2 separate regions of the Homo sapiens genome follow, and region 2 is linked to region 1. The links are contacts of gene promoters, found by promoter capture Hi-C in blood cells and fetal thymus (Javierre and others, 2016). All regions are on one chromosome and are shown on one strand. The core of a region is centred on a gene start or on the middle of the fragment in contact, and the rest is flanking DNA. Distances in the headings are between cores, read along the strand shown.

The links. Contacts are between HindIII fragments. The CHiCAGO score rates a contact against its expected background, and 5 or more counts as called.
Region 2: a contact is called between a fragment that was not itself captured here and the fragment with the promoter of KYNU in region 1, in 1 of 17 cell types (monocytes). The highest score is 5.7, in monocytes.

Annotation. Positions count from the first base shown.
Region 1 is chr2:142,874,279-142,880,114 of GRCh38, forward strand. KYNU (kynureninase) reads left to right here and starts at 3,386. Exons shown (of 14, transcript NM_003937.3): 1 at 3,386-3,458. The HindIII fragment of the contact is 4,288 bases long and covers 1-3,461 here.
Region 2 is chr2:143,256,204-143,262,039 of GRCh38, forward strand. All of the region lies in intron 6 of ARHGAP15 (Rho GTPase activating protein 15), which reads left to right. Among named protein-coding and RNA genes, the nearest start is that of ARHGAP15, 130 kb to the left of the region's middle. The HindIII fragment of the contact is 200 bases long and covers 2,896-3,095 here.

The sequences.
Region 1 (5,836 bases), core at 2,136-4,635:
TTCCCCTACCCATATAGAGAAGATGCTGTAGGTTCCTTGGCAGAAATTGCTTAAGGCAAATCTCATGACTGGCATTTGAGAAAGTTTTTGTTATGTTATATTGGTTATCCCCAAGGGGAAGTTTGGAAAGAGTGATTGGGTGTGCAAGGCCCCAGGGATATGGTGAGGGGAAAGGAGAGGCAGGAGGGCAGAGAGAAGGAAGCTAATCTGCCCCTCCCATCTGGGAACTTCCCAACACCCTGTGTAAAGAAGAAAGGAGAGTTCCAATAATGACTCAGAGTAAATTTTCCTCCTAAGAAGTCACATGTGAGCTCTGCGTTTTTATTTAATTAAGAAAAATAGCGTATTGTGAAATTTTCTGTTTACCCAAGTTTGAGACTGCAGTTTTTTTTATTAGTTCTTTCCTAACTTGTCTCTGTCTTTAATCTCATTACTCATTTCACATACTGAGCACCCAGCATTAGAGTGTTATGATCAGCCTGGTAGTGCAGCCTTGGATTCTTACATAAAGAGTTTGCTGATCTGAATTTAATTTAGTTAATGATCCAGCAAGCACCCATTTTAGTCTACTAAATGCTAGATACTGGCCTAACTATGGCGAAAATGCCCTGAAGAATAAGAATAAAGTTCATGGTTCAAGATTACCTTTTGAGAGGACAAAACTTTCCCATATTTCCAATAATCAATTTTTAGAAAATAAACTAGATCTTAATTAAAAAAAAACAAATTAACCAATTCAGTAGATATTTATTTAGCTCCATACATAGGTAGAGCTCTGAGGAGGATAAAATTAGTCTTTTCCTCTCGGAAACATATCATTTTATAAGCAGGATGCCATACCTGGAAATTAATAGACAACTCGGAATTGTACAACAGCTTATTCTGGCAACACTTTTTTTCTTCCTGTTTCCAAAAGGAAGGAATGGTATCTCACAGTGTTCTCTGTTTAACCTTGACTGCTGGCCCTGTAGCGGGTCTTGCTTTCACCCCTCCCCGCATGACTCGTTCTCTCATAATTCCCTTCTGTATTTAGCGGCCTATGTTATTATACAAGTTTTGCTCCCCATTACATCCCTGGCATTTCACTTTGTGCTTGGTACAGAGAATATGCTTAATACTTTTCTTGAATGAATGAAAGTGTCAACTGAAGAATGACAGGTTCATACATTTGGAAAGGAGAGCTTCATTTCACATAAAGGATTGCAGCCTGCAGGGTGATCATTCTGACCTCTGAAAAGTATAGCCTCTAATCAGAAGCTGGAAACAGACATTTTGAGGGAGGAGCAAAGGAAACAGAAATTTATGTTGAGCAGGGTAGCTGAATATATATATTCAATAAGCTATAGGGGAAGCCATGAATATTTGTGAAAGGAGAAATGTGCACATGCACAATGGAGTTTCATGCTTCTCCATGGGATCCGTGTTCAAAAAATGACAGCATTAATACAATCTGAGGGGGCAGTTTTCAGCCCAATGTGAAGCAGAGGACATGAAAACCTTTACTGCACATTCTCCATAGACTAGCCAGAAACATTCCATGATCAGTATTTTCTTTTTGTTCCAAACCACAAAAGAGAGGGATAACACCAGGTGATGGTTGATGTCATTGGTGTAATCTTTTGAAATGACTGGTTTCTTTTTAGCCATAGGGCAGAAAGCCTAATCATAGTTAGTGATGGAGCGGGTATGTGTTCCACTTCCTATCCTGTCATGGCCAAAAACTTAGTTTTCAAGTTTACTCTGGGATCCCCTTGGCCAAGAGCGTGTCCGTTCAGTTAATCTAGGGGCTTGGGATTTTATTTTTATTCCTCAAATGTAACAAATTTAAAGAAAGAAAGAAATTTATAAAACATAAGAAATAGAAGTATAGCTTAGACCTCCAAGCAAGTTCTTTAAAGGTGACAAGTTAAACAGTAGTTTTTAAGATAATATTTTGATGAAATTTTTAATCATATTATTACAAGATTTTAGAAGAAGCAAGATCTTGTGAAAACAAAACCTTAATGTCCATATCTAGCTCTCTAAATCTATAGTCAGTCTTTAAAAGAGTGACACAAAAATGACACAGATCCGCCCTCTGGTTCGCTCCCCATATATTAGAGCCTGGTAATCTTCCAAAGTTTTTACAGCATGAGGCATACACAGAATAGATGCAAAAAAAGTACACCTTCTGAAATTTCCTGAATGGATTCAAACTTTTACTATTCTAAGTTAATCAATTGGTAGTCTACTTACTTTATAGGATTATTGTAAGGATAGGATCAATGAAGTGAAATATATTTTATTTTCACTGGTCAATTACTCGTATTAAAGCAATTTCATGCACTTTATCTCCCTCTCTTGGAAACTGGAGAGTAGTACTTTTTGTCTGGTTACTTAAGATTAAAAAAAAGACAATATGTCACTTTTGACTTGAGTGTCATGGTATCTATGGCCTTCAACCTGCATGGTTTTATCGTTTCAGTAATCTTGGGAGGAAGGTATTATTAAGTTCATTTGATAAATAGGAGACTGAGCCTCCACAAGGGTTAAGTGAATTGCTCAGGGTTATACAATGAACACTTGATAGAAATGATTAAATGACACTTTACTTGATTTGTTGTGGGTTACTAAATAAAGCATAGGTGTGCATAAGTCATTCAATTATTCAAGCACATTCTTCATCCCTAGTCCTAATATCGAAAGTCTTTGCTCTTAGTTTTTATAACTACAAGGATATTCATCAAAAGACCCAAGCTCAGGAATAAGCCTAAAGAGGTAGTCAGACTAGAACAAAAGACAATTCACAGACTTAAATGAATAATTTGCATTAATGAAGTTTGCCAGGCTAGTTTCCACTTGAATCTTCAGATCTTTCTTCCTTCATTGTCTTGTTAACTGTCCAGATTTATTACCTAGGAGTTTTTGAAAACTCACATATTAGGCAATAGAGTGTATTCTGGAATTGAGAGCCTATTTTAAACTTTTGACTAAAAAGTTTACCCATTAAATGTCATAGATTCAACCATCAGACTGAAAATCCTCAGTGTATTTGAAGGAGGGTATTGTCTCAAAAATCCAGAGCTCAAAGTGAAGAAGAAAGGCAAAATTTGGAATTTAGCTCTAAGACCAACTCATCAGTTCAGGGGTCAGAGATTTATATAGTTAAAGGACAAGTGTGTGTTTACCTGAGTTTAAAGAGCAAAGTTGCCTCTGGAAAGAAGCCCTCACTGGAGGCTCTGGCATTTGAAATGGTGGGCAGGAGCACATGTTGCTTAAATTTCTGACAGTGGCTGGAGATTACCGATTGGTTAGGGGAGAGGAAGTAAAGTAAAATATTTATAAATTCTCCACTGGGTGGAGTCTGAGCAGTTCTTTGAATTTCTCACCCTAAGATCTGGCCTGTACATTTTCAAGGAATTCTTGAGAGGTTCTTGGAGAGATTCTGGGAGCCAAACACTCCATTGGGATCCTAGCTGGTAAGCTTGAGGCGCTGATAAAAACTCTCTACCCTAATGTTTACTCCATGTTTTTTCCAAATGAAACTTCTGTCAGCTAGAATCCTTGTCATAGTGTTTTAGAGGTTTTTTTCTGCTACTCTCTTCTTTTTTTATATATATTCTTTTTGTAAATAAAAATGGTATGACCTTCCTAAAGGCCCCACCTTTAGAAATGGGTTAAATGAAAAGATCTTTACTAATGTAATAGAAAAGAACTGATGAACATAGTGCACTGAATATGGTTACATTTGACAAACCAAAGTTAGTCCTGTTCTTATTTGAGTTTAAGCGGTAAGATTAGGTCAAACTCCAGACGAGGGAAAGATATTCTTAAACAGATTTTAAGTCCTCTGTTTTCTGGTAACTTTAATTGTCTTATGCTGCTAGTAGTCATATTAAATATTTATTTAGAGAAGTGAAAATGCCTACTCTTGAACAGAGTTTCTTCCCCTTTCATTTTATGAAACCTAAGAAAAGAAAGTTGATACACTTTTTAAAAATATACTAGATTTTCTTTTTTCCTTTCTGCTTTTATTTTGAGGCCAGTGGGGTGTTATTTAGTAGTAACACTGAAGCAAATGTATTGATTTTCTTAACGTGTTCAGCAAGTAATTCATATCCTAGATATGAAATATACACTCGTAGCAGAGTAATGTTACCCATTTCTCAATGATATGCTTAAAGAATCTTGCTCAATATGCATATTGTTTTTCCTTTTTTCTTTACTAATGAAAAACTACACGCTTTCTCAACATATTTTTAAGTCAGGTTCTAAACTTTGAACTCCTATGTACAATTTGCTTATTTCAGGCATGAATGTGAAACTGTGTAAAGATTAACTACCAGACACTCAGTCATTTATTTAACTATTTAGCCCTAAATCAGTGGGTGACTAGGAGATTCTGAATTCTGTGATTTCGTTAAAATCAATCAGTTTTTAATTATTATACAAGCTTTTTACTTTAAAGTTGTAGCTGTCTAAATAAAATTGTGAAAGCACAATTTCCAAACCTAAATCGAAGGCACATTGATGCTGTCCATCAGAAGGTATTGATAATTTAAAAAAATATTACAAACTATCTTTTATCTTTTTATAAAGGACCTAATGTCATTTGAGCTTAACCATAATCCTTTGAAGAAAGTAAAATTTAACTTTAAATAACATTGACATACAGAGCAGTTAGGTGATTTGTCTGAGACCATATGGTATGTATGTCCCCCGTCTTGATAAAATTAACACTAAATATGTAACATTTGAAAATTTGTAAAATATGTAAAAGTTGAAGTTTTTAAAAGTTTGGATTTAAGTTCTTCCTTTCAGAATATGAGCATGTCACTTTATTTGCAAACTAAACATGGCATAACATTATGGCTTGTGAACACTAATTGTCTTAGCTGCTGGGGTGAATGCAGAATTAAGCAGCAATTAGTATGAGTGAATAAATTGCATCCTTAGAGTGAGTGCACTATGCTATTCTGGGAACTAAAGACTATATTTGAGACCATGCGAAGTTGTGCAAGTGGTGGAGTAGGGCAGGGTGCAGTCATTTGGAAGACTATGCCCATCAGGTATCTCAAGGTACCCCAGATGTGACAGGCCCAGGAGCGGAACCAGCCACTTTAACTTTTGCCTGGCTGAAACTGGACTGGGAAGGATGGATTAAAAAGGTAAATCAATTCATACGTAGCTTGTGGTCCTTTGCAGCTTAAGTGTAGGACTGAAAAAAGAAGCCAAAGAAAAAGGGAATGAGCTGAAGAAATACACACACGTACACACACACATCAGGAAGCAACAGGCAAGGAAAAATAAAGTGAGAGGTTCAAGGCTTCGAGGAGGAATTGAGCTCTGTGCATTCCATTCATGGGCTTTGCCAAAGACCAGCACAATGGACTCAGCATCTCAGGCATGGTTAAGTACCCTACTGTGCACTCTGCTATCCTTTTAGTCCACTGGTTTCTACTCTGTCTGTGCCAGGTTTTCATCTCAATATAGAGGAAAAGGATTCTGATGCCTCAGGATTATTACAAGCATTAAATAAGATACAGATAGAATGACGCTAATGAGTATCATTTTTAAAATAAGGAAAGTTGAATTTTATTCAGAATCTGTTGGTAACAAACTAATCTCTTTATTTAAGTAACCCCACTTAGAGTTTAAAGTCACCTCCAATCAACTCAAAGGGCTGACCTCCCAAAGAAAGTCTCAAATATAAGGCAAGCTCTCTTGATTCTGAATTTCATTAGAAATGTTTGTCTAAGTCTTTCTCATATGGTCAGAATGAGAGAGGGTGCCCTTCTAGTAATATGTCATTATGTCAAATAATTCATCAACCAATTTTGTTTATTCTCTCGAACTG
Region 2 (5,836 bases), core at 1,746-4,245, 380 kb after region 1:
TTTCATTATTCATCTACTAACCACATCATCTCACAATGTTTTGAGGGAAATTCCAGATATGAATTTTAGAAGAATAGGGTTGAGAGAGGTAAATATCTGTGAAATGTAACTCAAAATTTCTGCTCTACTTCTGGTCTTTCTGTTGCCTTCTGAACTTAATAGACTGATATTTAATACACAACATGAAAATCTTTTTATTGTGTGACTAAGAATATAGATCCTTAATCTTATTTTTAATGTGCTATTCTTAGTGGCATTAATGTAATATCCAATTAATTAATCAATGACATATTCAAATTAATACTTAAAAGCATATCACCTTGAAAGCCCTACCAAGCTGTTAATAGAAACTTGCAAAAGGTAACATAGAAACAAGTGTAGCAACTATGCCCCAAGTGAAAGAGGGACAATAGTGACACTTATTACTCCCCTACTGAGGTATCAGTACAATACTGTTTTTCTGATTGAAGGGAAAGAGATATGATTATTTGTATGATGTTTAGCTTCACTTTTGTTGATGCGGTCACACAGATTTTGCACAGAGGGAGGCATAAAATTTTATAATTAGAGATTTGATTTAAGAATATGAATGTCAGGGGTATATAAAGATTGAGTGCAAATGATAGAATCTGGGGACAGGAAATAAAATTGATTGTAAGAATCTAGATGAGATCAAGAGAGCATGTTAGCTTTGACTGATGAAAGGAGAAACAGAAACAAGAAGATGGATGGAAAGTACATTCTGCAAATGAAGAACATGCCTATTGGTTCAGATAATGTGACTTGGGAACCACTGTCTTTTTGCACGTTTAATTTTCTAAGAAATAATAAAACTTTTTTAAAAAATATATTCTAGACATCTAGAATTAAGATTTATAAACTAAGTGTATCGTTAGGGAAAACAACACGAACTTTATGTTGCCTGGGTGATCCCGTGAAACTCACTAGTCAAAGCCTTAGACATCAAGGATGTATGCTCATTTGCACACCTTCATTGTTTCATTACTAGAGGGCATAATGCTGCCTTACTAGATTCATTCTTTTTGAACTATCAAAGCAGCATGCAACCGGATGACAGTAAAGATTGAAAATAGTAGTATTAGTACATTTTGGTCCCCAATTAGTGAAGGGAACCAAAATTTTGTAATTCCAAAATAACATAAAACAAAAGAAAAAAGTCAACTTGGCTTCTTCTGTTTCTAACATTTCAGCAGAAGAATGGATGCACGTCATCTAATGAACTTAGACAACTGGATAGCTCACTTCACATTGCCTTCTGGAATAGCTGGCTATGTGAGCTCAAAGATATGAGTTGTGCAGTTGGAATAAATTCTGGGTTTTAGTCTGACACCAGGCTAAATGCACCATGCTGTTCTTCATTTACCGACATCATATTGTGAATCCCTTCCTCTCATGGAACATATTCTGTTTCTTGATGATTTGGTAGAGCTAGTGTGGTAGTCTCTATGCCATCCATGGGCTCCTGTGGCTTGCAACGCACTTTCTCTGTTTTCCCATAAGCAGAATGAGACTAACTGAGCCACATGGAGATCAAACCTGAGACTTGACACGATGCACTCCAACCTGGGCAAAAGAAACCACTGCCACTGGGGAATTTTATGGAGTAAGGTAGAATCAACAAGTGTATGGTTTTTCTACTTGTTATTTTAATCTCATTTATAAAGTATAGAAAATATATTGATGCTAGCAAGACAATATTCAAGCCAAGGGATCCTTTTTCATATCTGTTTCAATATCTTTTATTTTTAAAGAGAGCAGCCATGTGTATTTCATGCTGTGTATGATTTTTAATAGCAAACAGACCTATTCCAGAAAAAGGAACAATTTAATCCCTAAAGCTGGTACATAATAGATGGGGCCAGTAAATGGTATCACATTTTACAGCTTGTCCATAAGGATGACACAGGATGAAATAAAATTGAGTGCTTTTGGATAGCATAGGATCACTGGCTGATAAATAGATGACGCTATTCAGTTTTTAGAAACATAAGGTAATGAAGCTGGATCTGAAAGCAAGAGAAAAAATACATATATATATATATGTATTCAGTGTTTATATGCCACAAGCCACTGAGCAGGAGGAAAATCTGGGCAGCGGTGAGCAAAGCTGAAACCTCAGAGCAATGTTTAAAGCAATATAAGAAAATAACAAAGCAAGCATCCATAAACAAAGGCTTGAAATGCACAGAAAAATAAGTTCAAGATGAAAGGAAAATGCCCACACTTATGCATAACTGGAAAGGCCACTTATGGCATCTATGCATAGAGTCTCTCAATGTAAGAGTTAAACATACTACTAAACATTTAGCAGAAAAAAAATTCAAAAGGATATAAAACACTGCAGGGCAGTTAAGGATTCTTGGTATTTGAAGAGGGGAGGAGGCTGCTCTTTTATCTTAACAAAACAGGATGTTGAGAGGTGGCCTAAGTGAAACAATGAAATGAAATGGTTGATGTTGGGGAGAAATCAGGAAGGAAGCTGTTTGAACTCTTTTCAGATAACACTGATGGGTATGAGATGGCTTAACCAAGGGAGAGGTGTTCACATGGAGGGTTTAGATGCATTTCTTTTTAGTAGAGAGCTATTAGATTCTTGACCTCAGCCTCATCAATTTACCTAACATTGCATTTCCGGCACTGGGAGAAATTCTAACAGTCTCACTTTCTGGGTGAACAAGTGTAAACTAAAAAAATTACAGTGGCAAAATTAACAAATTGCTGAAGCACCTTGAAAACGGAAATACCAATAATGAGGATTCCTTTCCCAAGTAACTTAGAAAGACCTTGATTGTGGTCTTTTTTTTTTTCTTGAAGTTGAATTTTAAGCAATGCTTCATTTTCAAAATTCCCATGCCCTTGATCAAGTAAAAGGCAAGCTTCTGATATTTGAGATCTGCGATAGATTTGAAATCAATTCATGGAAAGGGAGGTTACGAACATACTCTTTTGATGTGTAGGATGTACTGATAGGGGTGGCAGAAAATTATGTGAAACCCTTCTCTTTTGACAGCTATACTGGAACATTTACAACCACAGATGTTATTTGTCCATCAGAAAAGAAAATATTTGTTTCAAGCTTCAGGCATTTTCTACTACAGTATCAATATGAAATTCAACCTCAATTTAATGTTTAATGCATATGAAAATAAATATTTGGAGGGGGCAAATACTAGAAAACAATTGAACCCCACAAAATGTAACTAGCAATATGGAAAAAAATGCTGGCTTCATTACGAGCAAATTTGTCCTTTTACTAAAGTAAGGATTGTTCTATTATTAACATAGGAAATCTTAGATGGACTGCAAAGAATGCTGCATTATTCATAAAAGCATTGCTGCCATCTGGTGGCTACTTGGCATTTCAACACTGGCTTCTCTGATTCGGTTTGACTGGGTGCTCTCGGGAGGTATTTAAAGAAGAGCTTTAAGTGGTAAAATATAAATGTGGACATCCTCTGGCCCTACATGTCATTCATCTGATGGCAGTCCTTTCTCCCTGTCTTGTCGTGGAATGGAGGATTCAGGGAGAGGAAATGAGATACTTGGATATCTTTTGTCCTGAATGTGAAAGTGTATTTTACATGGCTTATCTAAAGAAGTTACTCTTGGCTGTTGTTGACTGATGAATTTTATCGACATTCATTTCTGTTGGCAAATAAATAAGTATATACCCAAATATTAAGAAGGTTTATTGAATCTAAAGATATGCTATTTTGCTTAAATAAGAATATACATGAGATGCTTTAATCCCTCATTTGGATCTAAGCATGAATTTTTTTAAGTTATCAGTCACTGAATTTGACTTTAGAAATAATATAATTTAGAATGTCAAAAAAGAAAATGTACAGAGGTTCATAAATTTCTTCCCATTTATTCAATTGTTATATTAAAATGGGAGGATTGTTAATGACTCAGAAACTCGTAATCCTTCTTCATGAATTTTCAAGTTAAATGACAAATATTATTCAGTTCACATCGCACTTTTTGTTGAAAATAAAATAGTTAAAATTTAAGAAATTTTGATGATTCTCAAGCATCAGTGTATTAACTCATTCTTAACAAGAACCAATTAGAATTAGGATATCTCTGTAATTTTAGTACGGTTTTAAGTTTCCAATAATCGTAGAAAGTCTCCTTGGTATGTAATGAAAACCTTGACCCTTTAAATGGCTATTTATATAGATCACAAGTCTTTGAAGATTATAGGAGATAATGAGTTAAAATTGCCCCAGGAGGAAAGCTGAAGTTTTCTTCTGAATTCTCAGGGATGATATTTAATAGTTAATATTCAGTTTCTAGTGAATATTTCCCTGTATCATTAAACTGCCTTCTGATTTAGTAAAAGTCAGATAACAAAGAACCATTACACTAAATCTGGAGAATTATATACTGAATTAATATTATCCTTTACAAGAAAATGTGGAAATGCCTATATTGAAAGTAAGACTTTTGGGTTTTATTTTTAAATTTGTGGGTAAGATTTTCAATCTGTGAATACATACTTGATATTCCCTTTGTTACTAGCTATTTCTACCACTAAAAATAATTCCTTCTTCAAAATATGTAATTTGGCTTATGGAAGAATGTTGCTCATCTTCTCTAGGAAGATGGCTCGATTCCCCATCCTTCCTCTGTTCTCCATTCTACTCACATTTAGGAAGGATATGAACAACAACAACAATAAAACCTTGCAAAGAAAGTAAAATCGATAATGATTATATCCCTGTCTCTTTCATCTGTAAGTATAAAATTTCAACTAAATTATTCTCCTAATAGACTTGGATACAACCCTGTGGTGGTTTCTAATGGCTCCATAATAGAGATAGTAAACCTTGTAGCTATGGTCAGGATGCCCTAGGTTTTAGTCATAAGTTGCTAATGTTTGTTTCAATAACATTTGCTCTTTGGCAGCTTTTACAGCTACTTAACACTAAATTCCCATTTAGTCAGGAGGATCATTCATATACTGTAATGAATGATGTCACCTTAAATCCTTTACTATGTAATTGCTGGATGTTACATTTTATAGTGGGGCATTTGATGGTGTATTTGTTTATGCTAAATTTTATGACAGTGACAGCTGTATCTTGGAGGAATGACCTTTTTTTTTTTTTTTTTTTTTTTTTTGAGACGGAGTCTCACTCTGTCACCCAGGCTTGAGTGGAGTACAGTGGCACCGTGTTGGTTCACTGCAACCTCCGTCTCCTGAGTTCAAGCAATTCTCCTGCCTCAGTCTCCTGAGTAGCTGGTATTACAGGAACCCACCACCACACCCGGCTAATTTTTTTTTTTTTTAATATTTTTAGTAGAGACGGGGTTTCACCATGTTGGCCAAGCTGGTCTCGAACTCCTGATCTCAGGTGATTACCAGCCTTGGCCTCCCATAGTGCTGGGATTACAGGCCTAAGCCACGGTGCCTGGCCGACCCTTTTCGTTCATAGGAATCTAGTTTCAAATCTTTTTAAGCAAATAGTTTCATCATATTTGCCTTCTGGCTTAGGCTAGGTTCCCCTGAAAGAAAAATTTGAGACTAGGAATTGTGTGCAAGCAGTTTATTTGATTGAAGAAAGCAGAAATTAAGAACTAGCAAGAGTGAAACAGAAGGAAGAAAAGCCAATGCAGAACCCATTATTGAGTTGGTCATAGGGTAGCTAGGACAACTTGCCAGAATTTTCCACCCAAGGATAGACAAGATGAAGCATTTGTTCATTAGCTCCTGAGCCTTTGGTTTCTGGTTGCCTCTGGGTGGGGATAATGTCTTTAGATCTTGAGTTTCAGGCTGTTCATGGGTGGGCGTGTCAAGAAGGCTCTTTCA